Regions from separate parts of the Homo sapiens genome. Here regions 1, 2, 4 and 5 are each linked to region 3. Evidence: promoter capture Hi-C in 16 types of primary human blood cells and fetal thymus (Javierre and others, 2016). All regions are on one chromosome and are shown on one strand. Each heading gives the region's core, a stretch centred on a gene start or on the middle of the fragment in contact. The rest is flanking DNA. Distances are from core to core; before and after follow the strand shown.

Evidence for each region. The method cuts DNA at HindIII sites, captures the fragments that hold promoters and counts their contacts. A CHiCAGO score of 5 or more calls a contact.
Region 1: a contact is called between a fragment that was not itself captured here and the fragment with the promoter of SP140 in region 3, in 5 of 17 cell types (activated CD4 T cells, non-activated CD4 T cells, naive CD8 T cells and 2 more). The highest score is 9.9, in activated CD4 T cells.
Region 2: a contact is called between a fragment that was not itself captured here and the fragment with the promoter of SP140 in region 3, in 1 of 17 cell types (naive CD4 T cells). The highest score is 5.2, in naive CD4 T cells.
Region 4: a contact is called between a fragment that was not itself captured here and the fragment with the promoter of SP140 in region 3, in 5 of 17 cell types (neutrophils, activated CD4 T cells, non-activated CD4 T cells and 2 more). The highest score is 8.9, in neutrophils.
Region 5: a contact is called between a fragment that was not itself captured here and the fragment with the promoter of SP140 in region 3, in 1 of 17 cell types (activated CD4 T cells). The highest score is 5.5, in activated CD4 T cells.

Annotation. Positions count from the first base shown.
Region 1 is chr2:230,776,357-230,779,056 of GRCh38, reverse strand. All of the region lies in intron 2 of CAB39 (calcium binding protein 39), which reads right to left. Among named protein-coding and RNA genes, the nearest start is that of CAB39, 65 kb to the right of the region's middle. The HindIII fragment of the contact is 3,089 bases long and covers 1-2,700 here.
Region 2 is chr2:230,819,152-230,821,851 of GRCh38, reverse strand. CAB39 (calcium binding protein 39) reads right to left here. Exons shown (of 9, transcript NM_016289.4): 9 at 777-2,700. Among named protein-coding and RNA genes, the nearest start is that of ITM2C, 44 kb to the left of the region's middle. The HindIII fragment of the contact is 3,617 bases long and covers 1-2,700 here.
Region 3 is chr2:230,224,357-230,227,056 of GRCh38, reverse strand. SP140 (SP140 nuclear body protein) reads right to left here and starts at 1,321. Exons shown (of 27, transcript NM_007237.5): 1 at 1,154-1,321. The coding sequence starts at 1,212. It also overlaps a transcript of SP110 not described here. RefSeq lists enhancers at 732-781, 802-881, 952-1,001, 1,232-1,441. The HindIII fragment of the contact is 6,572 bases long and covers 1-2,700 here.
Region 4 is chr2:230,757,714-230,760,413 of GRCh38, reverse strand. It overlaps CAB39 (calcium binding protein 39), which reads right to left. Exons shown (of 9, transcript NM_016289.4): 2 at 299-455. The coding sequence starts at 412. Among named protein-coding and RNA genes, the nearest start is that of CAB39, 46 kb to the right of the region's middle. RefSeq lists an enhancer at 1,395-1,494. The HindIII fragment of the contact is 5,262 bases long and covers 1-2,700 here.
Region 5 is chr2:230,865,783-230,868,482 of GRCh38, reverse strand. All of the region lies in intron 1 of ITM2C (integral membrane protein 2C), which reads right to left. Among named protein-coding and RNA genes, the nearest start is that of ITM2C, 2.2 kb to the right of the region's middle. RefSeq lists a silencer at 2,342-2,441 and an enhancer at 2,225-2,700. The HindIII fragment of the contact is 942 bases long and covers 926-1,867 here.

The DNA.
Region 1 (2,700 bases), core at 106-2,605, 550 kb before region 3:
TCCCAAAGTTCACACCTAATGCTCACCTCACTAATAACAGTATCAGAAACTAAACTTTCCCTCCCAGGGTGAGGACATAGGTAACTATAGTCACGCACCACATAACGTCTTGGTCAACAGCAGACCACAGAGACAACTGTGGTCCCACAGATACAATACCATATTTTTGCTGTACCTTTTCTATGTTTAGATAAACAAATACTTGCCATTGTGTTCCAACTGCCTACAGTATTCGCTATAGTAACAAGCTACACAGATTTGTAGCCTAGGAGCAACAGGCTGGAAGAAATCGCCTAATGATGCATTTTTTGGAATGTATCCCTGTTGTTAAGTAACGTGTAACAGGACTTCAAATTTTTAAGGATAGAGTCCATAATAACCTCTTCAAGTAGCACTAAGGCTATGAGATTTTTCACTGCCTGCTTTCCCATTAAAAAATAAAACAGGGTGGGAAAATAAGCAATTAGTAAGCTAAACATTAGTACAAATGGCCTTTTCAGAGATCACCAAAACCTCAGGAGGTTTCGTATTAACTCTCTTGACTTAAATCCAATATTCCCACGGTACCTATCAGTGCACTATTTTACTGTCACTAGAGGCAATTGCTGATAAAAAGTAGTGATACAAAAGTACAATTTCAGAAGACTCGAGAAGACAGCTCACATACCCATTAGTGCTTCTATGCAATGTCCTTGAAGTACTCACAGCCCTTACCAACACTCCTCCTCTGGACTCAAGCACTCAGTAGATCCAAACCGGCCTTACGTTAGGAAACAAGGTGACAAGAAGGCTACTTCCACATGAAGGGACAGGACTTTACTTGGTGAGATACAAGACTGGGCTGCCCTCTTCACTGTCCCCAATTTTTAGTAGTTAGTAGCAATTCTAACCTCAATATAGAAAGCACACTTAAAGACAAACATAGTAACATGCTGAAGTATACAAATGGCTAAGTCAGACATTAAAAACCTTACAAAAGATTCTATTTCATAGTAATAGTAACAATCTTAAAAGGATAAAATATTCTTCCTTCTTATCAGAGGCAAAGGCTTTTAGATACGCCACTGGTAGGAAAATAAATTGGTACAACTTTACTGGAGGGCAATTTGGCAAAATGTTATTGAAGAGTTTTAAAAGGTGCAAGGCCTCTGACTCATTTCTGCAACTTCCTGTGAATTATACTTTCAGGAATTTACCCTATGGAAACAGACAAGTACACAAAGGTAAGTACATGCAGTGTTACTTACAACAGCAAAGAATTAGAAGTAAAAGTTATCCCACTGAACTAGTTTAATCATTACGTACCCATAAAATGGAAGAACCACGGCAGGCTTTAAAAATAATTGAGGGCCAGGGGTGGTGGCTCACACCTGTAATCCCAGCACTTTGGGAGGTGGTCAAGGTGGCGATCACTTGAGGTCAGGAGTTCAAGACCAGCCTGGCCAACATGGTGAAACCCCATCTCTATTAAAAATATGAAAATCAGCCAGGTACCTGTAATCCCAGCTACTTGGGAGGCTGAGGCACAAGAATTGCTTGAACCTGGGAGGCAGAAGTTGCAGTGAGCTGAGATTATGCCACTGCACTCCAGCCTGGGTGACAGAGCAAGACTCCATATTTAAAAAAAAAAAAACAAAATTGAGATCTATATGCACATGAAAAGATGTTAAAATTTAAAATTAAAAAAAAAAAAACAAAAAAAACACCAACAGGTTACAGAGCAGCATGACCCCATACTCATTTACTTATCTGCCCCAGAGAGAGGGAGAAAACAAGCTAGAATATGAATGAGAATCCCCACCAAGTTAACAGTAGTCATTTCACGTGGTACTGAATTAAGGATAAACTTAATTTTTTTCTTTATAGTCTTGTATTTTCTGCTTTTTGGGGGAATGAACATACATCATATACATCATTAGAACATGACTTTGTATAGATACAGAAATAAATTAGAATCTATGAAGGAAACAAAGATCTTTCTCGCACACACTCATACACACTTCCCTACTACACAATGTAGAATTCCAATATACTAGTTAGAATAAAGTAAAACTAAAAAAGTGGATGAAAGGCCAGGTGCGGTGGCTCAAGCCTGTAATCTCAGCACTTTAAGAGGCTGAGGCGGGCGGATCATGAGGTCAGGAGATCGAGACCATCCTGGCTAATACGGTGAAACCCCGTCTCAACTAAAAATACAAAAAATTAGCCGGGCGTGGCAGGCGCCTGTAGTCCCAGCTACTGGGGAGGCTGAGGCAGTAGAATGGCATGAACCCAGGAGGTGGAGCTTGCAGTGAGCCGAGATCGTGCCACCGCATGCCAGCCTGGGTGACAGAGCGAGACTCCATCTCGGGGGGGGAAGAAAAAAAGTGGATGAAGTGAGACAGAGCACCTGGAACCATGACCTACTTGTTTCTCCAGAGCAATGAACTAGTGACACTCACAACCACTTGTGTGGATCTCATGGGAATGATGCTGAGTGGAAGAAAGCCCATCTCAAAAGTTTACACACTATATGATTCTATTTATTTAACATTCTTGAAGTAATAAAATGTATAGACTTGGAGAACAGATAAGTGTGATGCAATTGCATAGAGCTATATGCATATCCACACAAACTGTAAAACTGGTGAAATCTGAACAAGCCCTGTGGATTATACCAATGTCAATGCTCTGGTTTTGATATTGTATATAGTTATGTGA
Region 2 (2,700 bases), core at 97-2,596, 590 kb before region 3:
TGCCTGAAGTGCAACGTTCTGGAGCTTCTTTGGCAAGGGGAGGAGGGCATTTGATGGGGGATTGTGGTAGGAAGTGGAATTTGAGCTGAAGCGTGAATCCAGTCCTCAGCCTGGTGATCCTTATAAGTGGCCAAGTCACAAGTTATGACTTAATGGGCCCTTGTCACCTTTGGGGAACTACAACGTACAAGTAGACTGAACTACTTGACAGAAATAACAAATAGGACATTGTTATTCGGATGAAGTGTTTTTGGCAAGAGCATGTCCCTTGCCTTCACTCCAGAGAATAAGATTTCATTTACTGACAGGGGTTAAAGTCGAGGGCAGGGCTGTGAACTAAGGATTACGAGGCACCCTGGAAGGCAGACGAGGGACATTCTTTACGGTGCCAGAGTTCTTGTGCCTGCTTCCACGGTCCCCTCGCCTTCATGATCATTTCACATCAGTAACCTGTGAATACTCCGGGCCGAGTGTTCTAGTTTAGCCTCGCGGTGTTGCTAACAGCGCAAGAGAGGATCTACTCCTCAAACGTTAGGGTCTAAGAAATGGTACCATTAAAAGGTGTGATTTTACTCAGGAAGGGTAAGGAAAACATGAGCACGGGGGCGGTGGGGGGGAAGTGAAGCCCCTGAACAGGGAAAAAGGCAGACAGGAATGGGTGTTAACTGTCCCTCCACTTTCAGTTGGTGATAAAATTCGGGCTTGTGTGTCTCCTGATGAAGCTGTTCACAGTAACACAAATGCAACTGTCTATAACACATCATAAAGACAGACAATGCTGTTTCTCCAAAATTTTATTTTAATTTAAATTACAGGGCCAGCCAGATATTCTGATAAGAAATTCACTTTTCCTTAGGAGAAAGAAAATGCTTTCATGGCATTGTTAACAAATGTATACATCTCCACTTTTTTAAGGGTTAAAAATCACATTAAGTAACTGCCTTATGTAAAATTAAACCTTTATAACACAAAAACCACTTCCAGTATAATAGTCTTGGTAATATGAATATATTAAATGATCATAACTTCAAATGCAACATTTCAAACTTAAATGTTTTCACATTGTTTTGCTTAAAAACAAAACCCACGAAGTCTGAACTACCTTCAGATTCCAATGTAAGAGTAACATGAATGTTGTGTCTGACACGCTGCACCCTCACTTCTTCCACCTAAAAGGCTACGACCTCACTGCCAAAGTGGAAGCTGTTCTAGATGTGTAAGTTCTAAGAATGAGCTTGGCAAGAAGACGTTTCTTCCACTTGGTGTAATCCATGTTTTTACACTAACTCCATACACACAGCACTACACCACAAAGCCAGGACACCACATCACGGCCAAGTCTTCCTTCCTAAACATCCAAGAGATTTTTTTTTCAAGGAGACTAGATTGCCTTATTTCACACAGATTCTGGTAAAGACAGTCTTGAGAAATGCCAATTATGATGTAGACTGCCATTTTAATAAAAATAAAATATATCTATATTTTCTGGAGCTATTTTCCTAACTGGTGTTCCTGAAGGTTTAAAACCTGCTGAAACAGCAATTGGGAGGCCCATTTTACTGGCCAGTATATAATTCCATTAGTAAGAGAGGCTAGCAAAGAATAATCATATCAATTTCTTAATCAGCTGCAGCCATGCTGAATTTGAACTGGCAAACTCTGATTTGTCAGTTGTTAGTTGTGATCTTCATATCACTAAAATGAACAGATACCATTCTAATAACTTTACATAGATATAGTCTAGAAGACATTGTTCTGCCGTGGTCACAGTAACAAAAAAGTGGTGCAAAATCAGTTACTTTATAAATACTGATAATTTGCAGCATTAAGGAACAGGACATTAAAAAAAATAAATTTCCCCATAGGACACCTATGACTAGGAAGTCGTCTTTTCCTAAGAGAAGCCAAAGTTTTAATTATTCAGTTCACAACTATTGTACTGGGTTACTTAGTCTAAGAAAGAAAAGGTGCTCTACAGAGATTTCCCACACACACAAAGAATCAGCATTAATTTAGCATAATCTCTATCATTCACAGATCTGGCAGATTCATTAACTCATTTAAAATGAATAAGGCCAATAGGATGCAGGAAGGTGTGGCTGACTGAGCTCCAGGGCTGTATCGCAGCTTATTGATGGCACCCCATTAGGTAACTGAATACAAAGGACTGGTTTACTTTCTTTTTCTTTTAATGCTGTGATACTTAAATGTTAAATCAGCATTTTCATGTGATCTGAAGTATTTCAATTACATATGAGCATTCATTGTTTTTTGCAAAAACTCAGTATTAGGTAATAGTTACATACTACTACAATAACATTCCTCTGCTGTACAAATTAAACCATTTAAAAGAAATGAGCATTCTAAGAATTATATACAAAAGAAACCTTGAAGCAGTGTTGAAATGAAATGCAAGGTGTCATTGCTAGCTCTACTGTTTTAAAGTATCTTTGAAAAGTAAAATTAACAAATACCCTTCAACATATCCAGGTTTACAAGTCTCAAGAAAATCAAATGTCAAAAAATTCTAGAAAGCTGTGAAAAGCATATATACATTTTCCTTATGATCTTATGAGGCTTCTTTACACTTTTAAGAAGTTGCTAAGTTTCAGTATCAATTTATTCGCATGTCAACTTTAGCTGCCCCCAAACTCCCATTTTGGATAGCTCCCCTCTGATTTCAGATAAAGCTCTGCGTCA
Region 3 (2,700 bases), core at 72-2,571:
CATGGATGCTCAAGTCCCTGATATAAAAGGTGTAGTATTTACATATAACCTATGCACATCCTCCTGTATATTTTAAATCATCTCTAGACTTATAATACCTAATACAATGTAAATGCTATACAAATAGTTATACTGTATTTTAAATTTTTATATTACTTTTTATTGTTGTTATTTATGTTTTTAATTTTTAGAAAATATTTTGCATTCATGGTTGGTTAGATCCATGGATACAGAATCCACAGATAAGAAGAAATGACCGTATTGATGTACTTGTCTTTTTTTTTTTTTTTTTTTGAGATGGAATTTCACTCTTGTTGCCCAGGCTAAAGTGTAATGGTGTGATCTTGGCTCGCCAAAACCTCTGCCTCCCTGGTTCAAGCGATTATCCTGCCTCAGCCTCCTGAGTAGCTGGAATTACAGGCATACACCATGACACCCAGCTAATTTTGTATTTTTAGTAAAGACAGGGTTTCTCCACGTTGGTCAGACTGGTCTCATTGTCTTACATTTTTTAAAGATGATTTCCAGGCTTCTCTGACCAGATATGTAAAAAATACCAGAACAGAAGAATAAAAAAAGCAGAAGCAGCACTCACTCTCTACCTGCTTGCCTTTTTTGTTGGGTCTCATCTGCTTTCACTTCCTCCTACCAAGTATTCAGAGATCCTGAAGTGATTCTAGGGCTAAGAGCCACATAGATGGGCTCAGAGCAGAACCGGTCCCCAACTACACAGCCTGGAAAGTGTGACAACAGACAGGCGTTTGGATTTTAATTCTTCTAAAAAGATCCTTTTTAGACAGAGTTGTCTTTTGGAGTGGGGATAAAGGAGGCCTGGGGGAGAAGAGAGGGTTCAGAGGTCACGGGGAATCATCCAATCCTACACAAAGCCTCAGAACAGGCATGATGTTCAAACAGCTCCAGTCCAGCCATTTGCAGATGTAAGAGAATAGGAAGATGATGTGAGTCACGGCATCCTTGAGTTTCTCCAACAGCCAATCCCTGCAATTTAAAAAATCTGATTGCCTCGTTATTTATTTGTAACTGAATTCTATTGTATACCTGTAGAGTGAAGCTGGGTAGACATTAAATAACAAGTATGAAAGGGAACCCTACCAGAGATGAAGGACAGACGGGAAAGGAGACGATGACCCACCTGAAGTTGAGATTGCTGTCTCCACTTGCCATCTGCCCCTGCTGGCCCTGCTGGGCCATGAGCTTGGCCTAGGATCACACCCGATTCGATTTTCACTGCCCCGTTCCTTCCTGCAGCTCTGAGGTGAAGCTGCCAACTGCCCCTCGGTGCTCAGTCAAAGAGGAAAAGAAAAGTGAAATTGCCTAACTAGCTGACGTGGGTGCACCAACTCTACAGTCCTCCCTCCACCCAATCTCCATGACGTCTCTCAGTCAAGGGAGGAGGAGCAGAGCCAGCCCCACGAGGCCACGGAAGACAGGGTCACTTGTTCCTGCCAAGGAAAGAGGGTGGAAAAGTCATTCAACTCAAGCAGATCAAAGTTGTTTTGAGGTAAGGTGGCATCATGAGGAGGAAGTAAACTCTGTATTTGTCCCCACCCCTTGCTGAGGTGGCTGAGAAGGACAAGTGAAGACCAGACATTTCAAATCTTCAGTCAGGCTCCAGGGCTGGCCATGCACCTTAGTGAGCCTGGGCTGGATGGCTTAGGCCCAGTGTTTGGACATGGGGCCAGGGAGAACTGAAATAGCATGCATTAGAAAGTGGGGGAGATGCTCTTAGCACTCCATGAAAGCAGACAGAGGTAAAAGACAACTCTCTCAACTCCTCCAGCCAAAGGCAAGTGCTGAGGTTGGGCAGAGAAATGAGGTGCAATTCTAAGTTTTCTCAAATATGTGGGCACTTTACAACAGCAGCCAGGGGTGACTGGGAAAAAAATGAGCTTCAACCATTTCACTGAAATCTTGAGGAGAGTGACAGCCTTCTCACTGGATGGGGAAAGGGTTTGGAGCTGAGATTATCTAGACCTTCAAGGACAATATGATACAGGAGGATAGCTGTATTACATTTATGTTTGCACACAATTTTTCATTTATACCCAGCCCTCATTCTGTAAAGGATTTGAAACAATTTACAAAAACACACTATATCAGCATAAAGTCGAGTGATAAACAAATGGAAGCAAAGGGCAAATATAAAAAATATAACCACAGGACTAGAAATCCAGGCAGAAAAATGGGTCAAAGACAGGGGGCTGATGAGAGCCAGGGTATGGGTAGAATCCAGGGCCAGTGACAGAACAGTAGTGAGGATTGAAAAGCCAGAGGCAAAGCAGTATTTTTCCAAAACATGTGCTCCTGAATCCTACTTTTTCTGGTTCATTACACATATGCAAGGAAATTTGCATACATAAGTTTGCAAAATACAGAGTGCAAGAAATTTCTACCCCTTCCACACTTCTGCTTTCTTTCTACCAAAGGAACAAACACCAATCTGGTTGAGACAAACTCTAGAACACTGATGAGGACACCTTTTCCAGTATCTCTCTCTCTCTCCTCTCTCTCTCTCTCTCTGTCCTCTCTCTCCTCTGTCTCCCTCTCTCTCCCTCTCTCTCCCTCCCTCTCCCTCCCTCTCCCTCTCTCTCCCTCCCTCTCCCTCCCTCTTTAAAACAAGAAGGAAAAGTATGCTGGGCTTCTGTTAGACACAGCTGTCCTCTCCTCCCAGTCTCCATG
Region 4 (2,700 bases), core at 70-2,569, 530 kb before region 3:
CAACCCTGTCTCTACAAAAATAATTAGTAATAATAAATAAATAAATTAGAATCAAACACTTCAAGATGAAATAAACACAATTTAAATAAACTCGAAAACCTGACAGAACAGTTAGAAATCTATTTGTTAGACGAAAATACAGAAGAAAAAGTATGTTGCAACAGCAGCATATGTTGCTTTTGGATGTTATTTTTAAAATCCAAAATAAACCCAAATTGGGACTTACTGATTCCTCATATAAGGTGTCTTGCATTTGCTAATTAAGATATTTCAAATATAAATAAAGCCAAATCCATACCTTTTCTGCTTTTTTATCAGAAATGTCTTGCTTTTCCAGAACAGCCATGCTCTCCTTCAGATTCTTCACAATGTCTGCTGGAGATTTGTGAGACTTCCCAAACGGGAACGGCATGACGGCAGCGGCAGGGGCCTCCGCTGCACTCCGCCTGTGCTACCTAGAACACAGCACAAGGTTCATGTGAGCAAACACTGGGATCAACGGAAGACAGACTTTCTAAATCCTAATCTGGGAAGAAAACCCGTGTTTAGGCAAGTCATTTTACATAACTTTCAAAATCAGTAGGAACAGGGAAATCCACAAATATATGCAAGAAATGATAATACACAGATGTCTTAGAATTACAGAACACTGTATTTTTCAAAACACTTTGTTTTTCTTTCCTTCAAATCAATTGCTCTCCTAACCACGCAAATGGGGACGAACATGCTGACTGATGCTGCTGAGGTAGAGAGCAGCAGCTCCCACTCACAGGGCAACTGCTACTGCCAGGCCTGATGCTGAGCACTAGAACTCATCATTTCATGAAACCCTTTCTAACAATCTCCTGCTCCTATTTACTGGTGAAGTTTAGCAAGGTTGAGCGTGAGGCTCAAGGTACTAAGTGGTCAAACAAGCTCAGATCTGTCTTGATCCAAAGCGTCCTTAATCACCACACTGTACATCAAATTGATAGTATCTATTTTACAGCTGAGGCAACTGAGGCAAAAAGTTAGGTAGGGTGTTTAGCCAAACAGCACTAGCAACAGCCTACTATCTAGGTCTCTCCAGATGCTCTTTTCCCGGTGTTCACGCTGCTCCTCCTAAGCACCCCAGTGGGCTGCCCTGAATATGGCACACACTTCCTCGGCACACCCATCTTATTCAGGCAGTCACAGGGTCTCAGAGCTAGAGAGAAGCCTGGACAGGGGAATAAAATCTCCCATTAGATCCTGTAATCCCCTATGTGACAGTTGTCAAGATGTACTCTTTTTGCCTGGATTTGACCATCTCCTATGAAAGAACTCGCTGGATAAAACCCTGAGGATGATGAACTTCTAGAAGTTCTTAATTTTTTGTGGGTAGTAGAAAACAACATTTCAACCACATAAACCACAGTATTACATCATCCAAAAGGAGAACATGCAACTATTCCAAGAAGGCACTATGAAGAAACAAAGTTAACAAGACAAACAATGGAAGTGACTTGGGAACATGTTGGAAGTTACCATTTTTCAGTAAAAAAACTAGAAGTAGTTAAATTCACAGGCACTAAACAGTCTCCTATCAGACACCGAAAGATGACACTTTTTAGAAAAACCTTATGGATCACTTAGATCAGTGGTTTTCTGACTGTAAGTTTCAACATCCTATATTTAACTGCCCAAGGTGCTCCCCACACACACCCAAGAAAAGGTGGCTCTCAGACACCCCAACCCCACTTTGTTTTCCCCTTCTATATAAACACAAAAATACATCCATTGCATAGTATCATAACACTTCTTTTGAGCTTTACCTAAGATTTGATGAACAAACTTGAGTGTTTTTCCCTTAAGTTTGAAATAGAGTGACTTACATATTTGTTTATAAAGAATGTTTAAAACATGCAAATGAATGCTAATGTCAAGCCTACAACTAAATCATAAACAAGTATGTTATTTCTCAACATGTTCTGATGTGAACTGTTCCAACCAATCTCTAACCCCAAATATTGCCTATCTTACCTTCTGTCACCTTGTAAATCCTTTTTTGACAAAATTAACCAAAGAGAAATAGTTTAATGCATATCCTTTGTCATAGGTTCTTAAATATCCAAGGATTTTTTTTTTTTTTTTTTTTGGAGTCTCGCTGTGTCACCCAGGTTGGAGTGCAGCAGCGCAATCTTGGCTCACTGTAATCTCCACCTCCCAGGTTCAAGTGATTCTTGTGCCTCAGCGTTAGCCTCCCAAGTAGCTGGGACTATAGGTGTGCACCACCAACCCAGCTAATTTTTGTATTTTTAGTAGAGATGGGTTTTCACCATGTTGGCTAGGCTGGTCTCAACTCCTGGCCTCAAGGGAGCCACCCACCTCGGCCTCCCAAAGTGCTGGGATTACAGGTGTGAGCCATCATGCCCAGCCATAAAATCCAAGGATCTTTAAGTCCACTTCTAAATAACTTTTCTATGCCTAAAAGTTTGAACTGACGTTAGGGGAGTCACTCTTAACTAGCTGTCATATGATCGCTCTACAAGCCAGATGGGACACAAAGCCTGGATCATTCTTTTCCTTTTCCTGGATCATTACTTTTTCCTTTGGGCAGGGGAGTGGGCGGCAGGGGGTGGGGGGGAAGCATGCAAGTTGCTTCTCCATAAACAGTGTATCACACTCACAATATGTCCTCTGAAAATATTATCTTTCCTATCTGTAACTCTGCAAATAATA
Region 5 (2,700 bases), core at 147-2,646, 640 kb before region 3:
GTGTGTGTGTGTGTGTGTGAGTGCAGGCACAGGCAGGGTGTGGGGAGAAGGGGCAGGCTAAGAGGGGCATGGCCAGCCAGTGGGCCCCCAAAGGGGAGGAGGGATCCAGTTGGCGCTGGGAGGGAGTGCTTTGCTGTCCCAGGGGGTGCTTCCGGTCCAGCCCACTTCCCAAGCTGGCAGTGTCCCAGCTCCTCATTATCTCAGAGTCAAAACACCAGGGGGGGAGGCCGGGCAGCTGGAAGCCCAGCTGGCCCCCACCCCCATCCCTCCCTGGCCCACTGAGGCACTTCCTTCCAGTCTCAGGTCCACAGACAAAATCCTCCTTGTGTTGCAGTTTTTGCTCAGAAGCAGGGGCAGTGCCCACCGAGAGGGTGCTCCTGCCGCCTCACCCTGCCCCCACCCCGCCCTCACTCTGGGCCTGGACACAGGTCAAGAACTGCCCCAACGCACAATCATCTGTTCACCGCACAATCATCTGTTCACCGAGTGCTCCTCCTGCGGATCACTTTTTACATCTTGTTTTGGGCCGGGTGTGGTGGCTGACACCTGTAATCCCAACAATTTGGGAGGCTGAGGTGGGAAGATCACCTGAGGTCAGGAATTTGAGACCAGTCTGGCCAACATGGTGAAACCCTGTCTCTACTAAAAATACAAAAATTAGCCGGGCATGGTGGCAGGTGCCTTTATTCCCAGCTACTTGGGAGGCTGAGGCAGGAGAATCACTTGAACCTGGAAGTGAAGGTTGCAATGAGCCAAGATCGTGCCACGGAACTCTAGCCTGGGTAAAAGTGAGACTCTGTCTCAAAAAAAAAAATAAAATAAAATAAAATAGATAAAATAAAATAAATCTTGTTTTGGAGTCCAGTTCAGACACCAAGGAGGGTTCTGGGGTCACTGCCAGCCAGAAGAAACGTTTTAATAAGCTTTCCTGGGCATTCCCAACAGTACGGGACAAAATCTACACGCCCTGCCCTGAGAAAGCAGCCTCCTGGCTGCCATCCCTCGGCTCACAGAGCTACAGCTGAGAAATGGGCCTCCTGCCTGCTCACTGCTGGGGGCAGGAGACGAGGCCTGGCTCCTTGCCAGAAACTGGGTAAGGAGGAAATGTGCGGGTTGGCCAAGTGGGGCAACAGGAGGCCCGCAGAAGTGAACTGTTTCCAAGGCTCCAAATCTAGCAGGTGATGGGCAGAGCCAACTTGCAACACCTAAAGTCCCTCTGCACCACGCCAGGGCCTTGGGAAGCTGTGAAAGTTTACTAACATGCAGTTCTGTCCTAAAGATGCCAGGATTCTAATTCTTTCCCCAGATCGCATAGTCCTAAGCTCCCCCTTGCCAATTAGAGAGGGAGGGGACCCTGCCCAACTGACAAAGTTTGAGGGAGGAGGTACTCAGCAGGCTCAAGGCCATTACAAACAGCACGCAGGAAGATGTTGATATTTCCATTTCATGCTGGGTGAGGGGGAAGAAAGGACGCTCAATTTCAGAGCCTGATGAGAAGCCAGAAGCTAGGATGTCAGTTATGCCCCGAGATGCAGGTCTCTGTCAGACTGCCCAAACCCATGCCATCAGCAGGCTGCGGCTGGAGAATGTGCCGCTCCTGCAAAATCTGGGGGACCTTCTGATGGAGTTGGAATAACACCCTCCCACTGTCTGACCTGGTCCTCCCTCCTCAAATATCTCCAGGAAGAGGTGGCTAGGAAAAGAGATGGGCAAGCGTGCTGCCTCCTGCCCCCATCCCTGCCCCTCCCCAGGCTGAGTGGAGGGCAGCTTCCCTTCCAAAGAAAAGGAGTCTTGAAGAACCCCTTGCAAACTTTTAAAGCTGCAGAACCATCTTCTTCAAATATGGAGCGCCCCCTCCACCTAAGCTTCAGATGAAAAGGGGGGAGCTGCTCTCATGGGGTGCACAGCAACCCCCAACCTCGCCTAGGTGGTTGTTGAACTCTTGTGGCTCTGAGCCACTGGTTGCTGCAGTGACCACCATAAAAGGGCAGGGGGTTCTCAGTCTCCTGGCATTCCTCACTCAGGGTCTCTGCCCAGGCTGACACCCAACTCTGACGGCCCTCTCCGGCGCCCCCTCCTCCAGGGTCCAGGTCATCCTCTGCAGGCCCCTTAATGCCCCAGGCAAGACTGAACCTGAGCCACAAAACCTGGGGAGGGGGCTAGGCGTTCAGGAAGACTCTTCAGAAGCCTGCATCTGGAAGTGGGGAAGCAGTGGACAAAGACTTTCTCAGTCCTGCCTCAATGCGGGGTGGGGAGGCGGGGAGGACATGGGCTTGGTAAGCCACAAGACCGCTGGGGGCGGCGCCCACGTAGACACCTTTGCCAGGCACAATAAAACCTGGCTGGGCCAGCTCTCCCTCCCTCCCTGTCCCTGCCCGCCACGCGTTCTGCCCCCTGCGGGCCCTTCCCGGACACAAGGCACGCAGCTCAGACAGTTTTCCACGGCGGAAATGCCTTCTCTCCCCCCCGGCCAGAGGGAAAGTGGAGGAAGCCGGGGTAGGGGAGGGGGATGACAGGGGTGGGGGAACGCGCACAGAGCCCGGGGACCCAGGATGCAAGGGCACTGGGGCAGTTGGGAGCCCTCCCCGTGGGGTCGGGGGACAGCCCAGCGAGAGGCTGGGAATGGAGAAAAGAGAGGGGAGCAGGGAGGCCCAGACGGCAGGGCGTGGGGTGGGAAGGGGGCACCCGGCCTCGGACCCC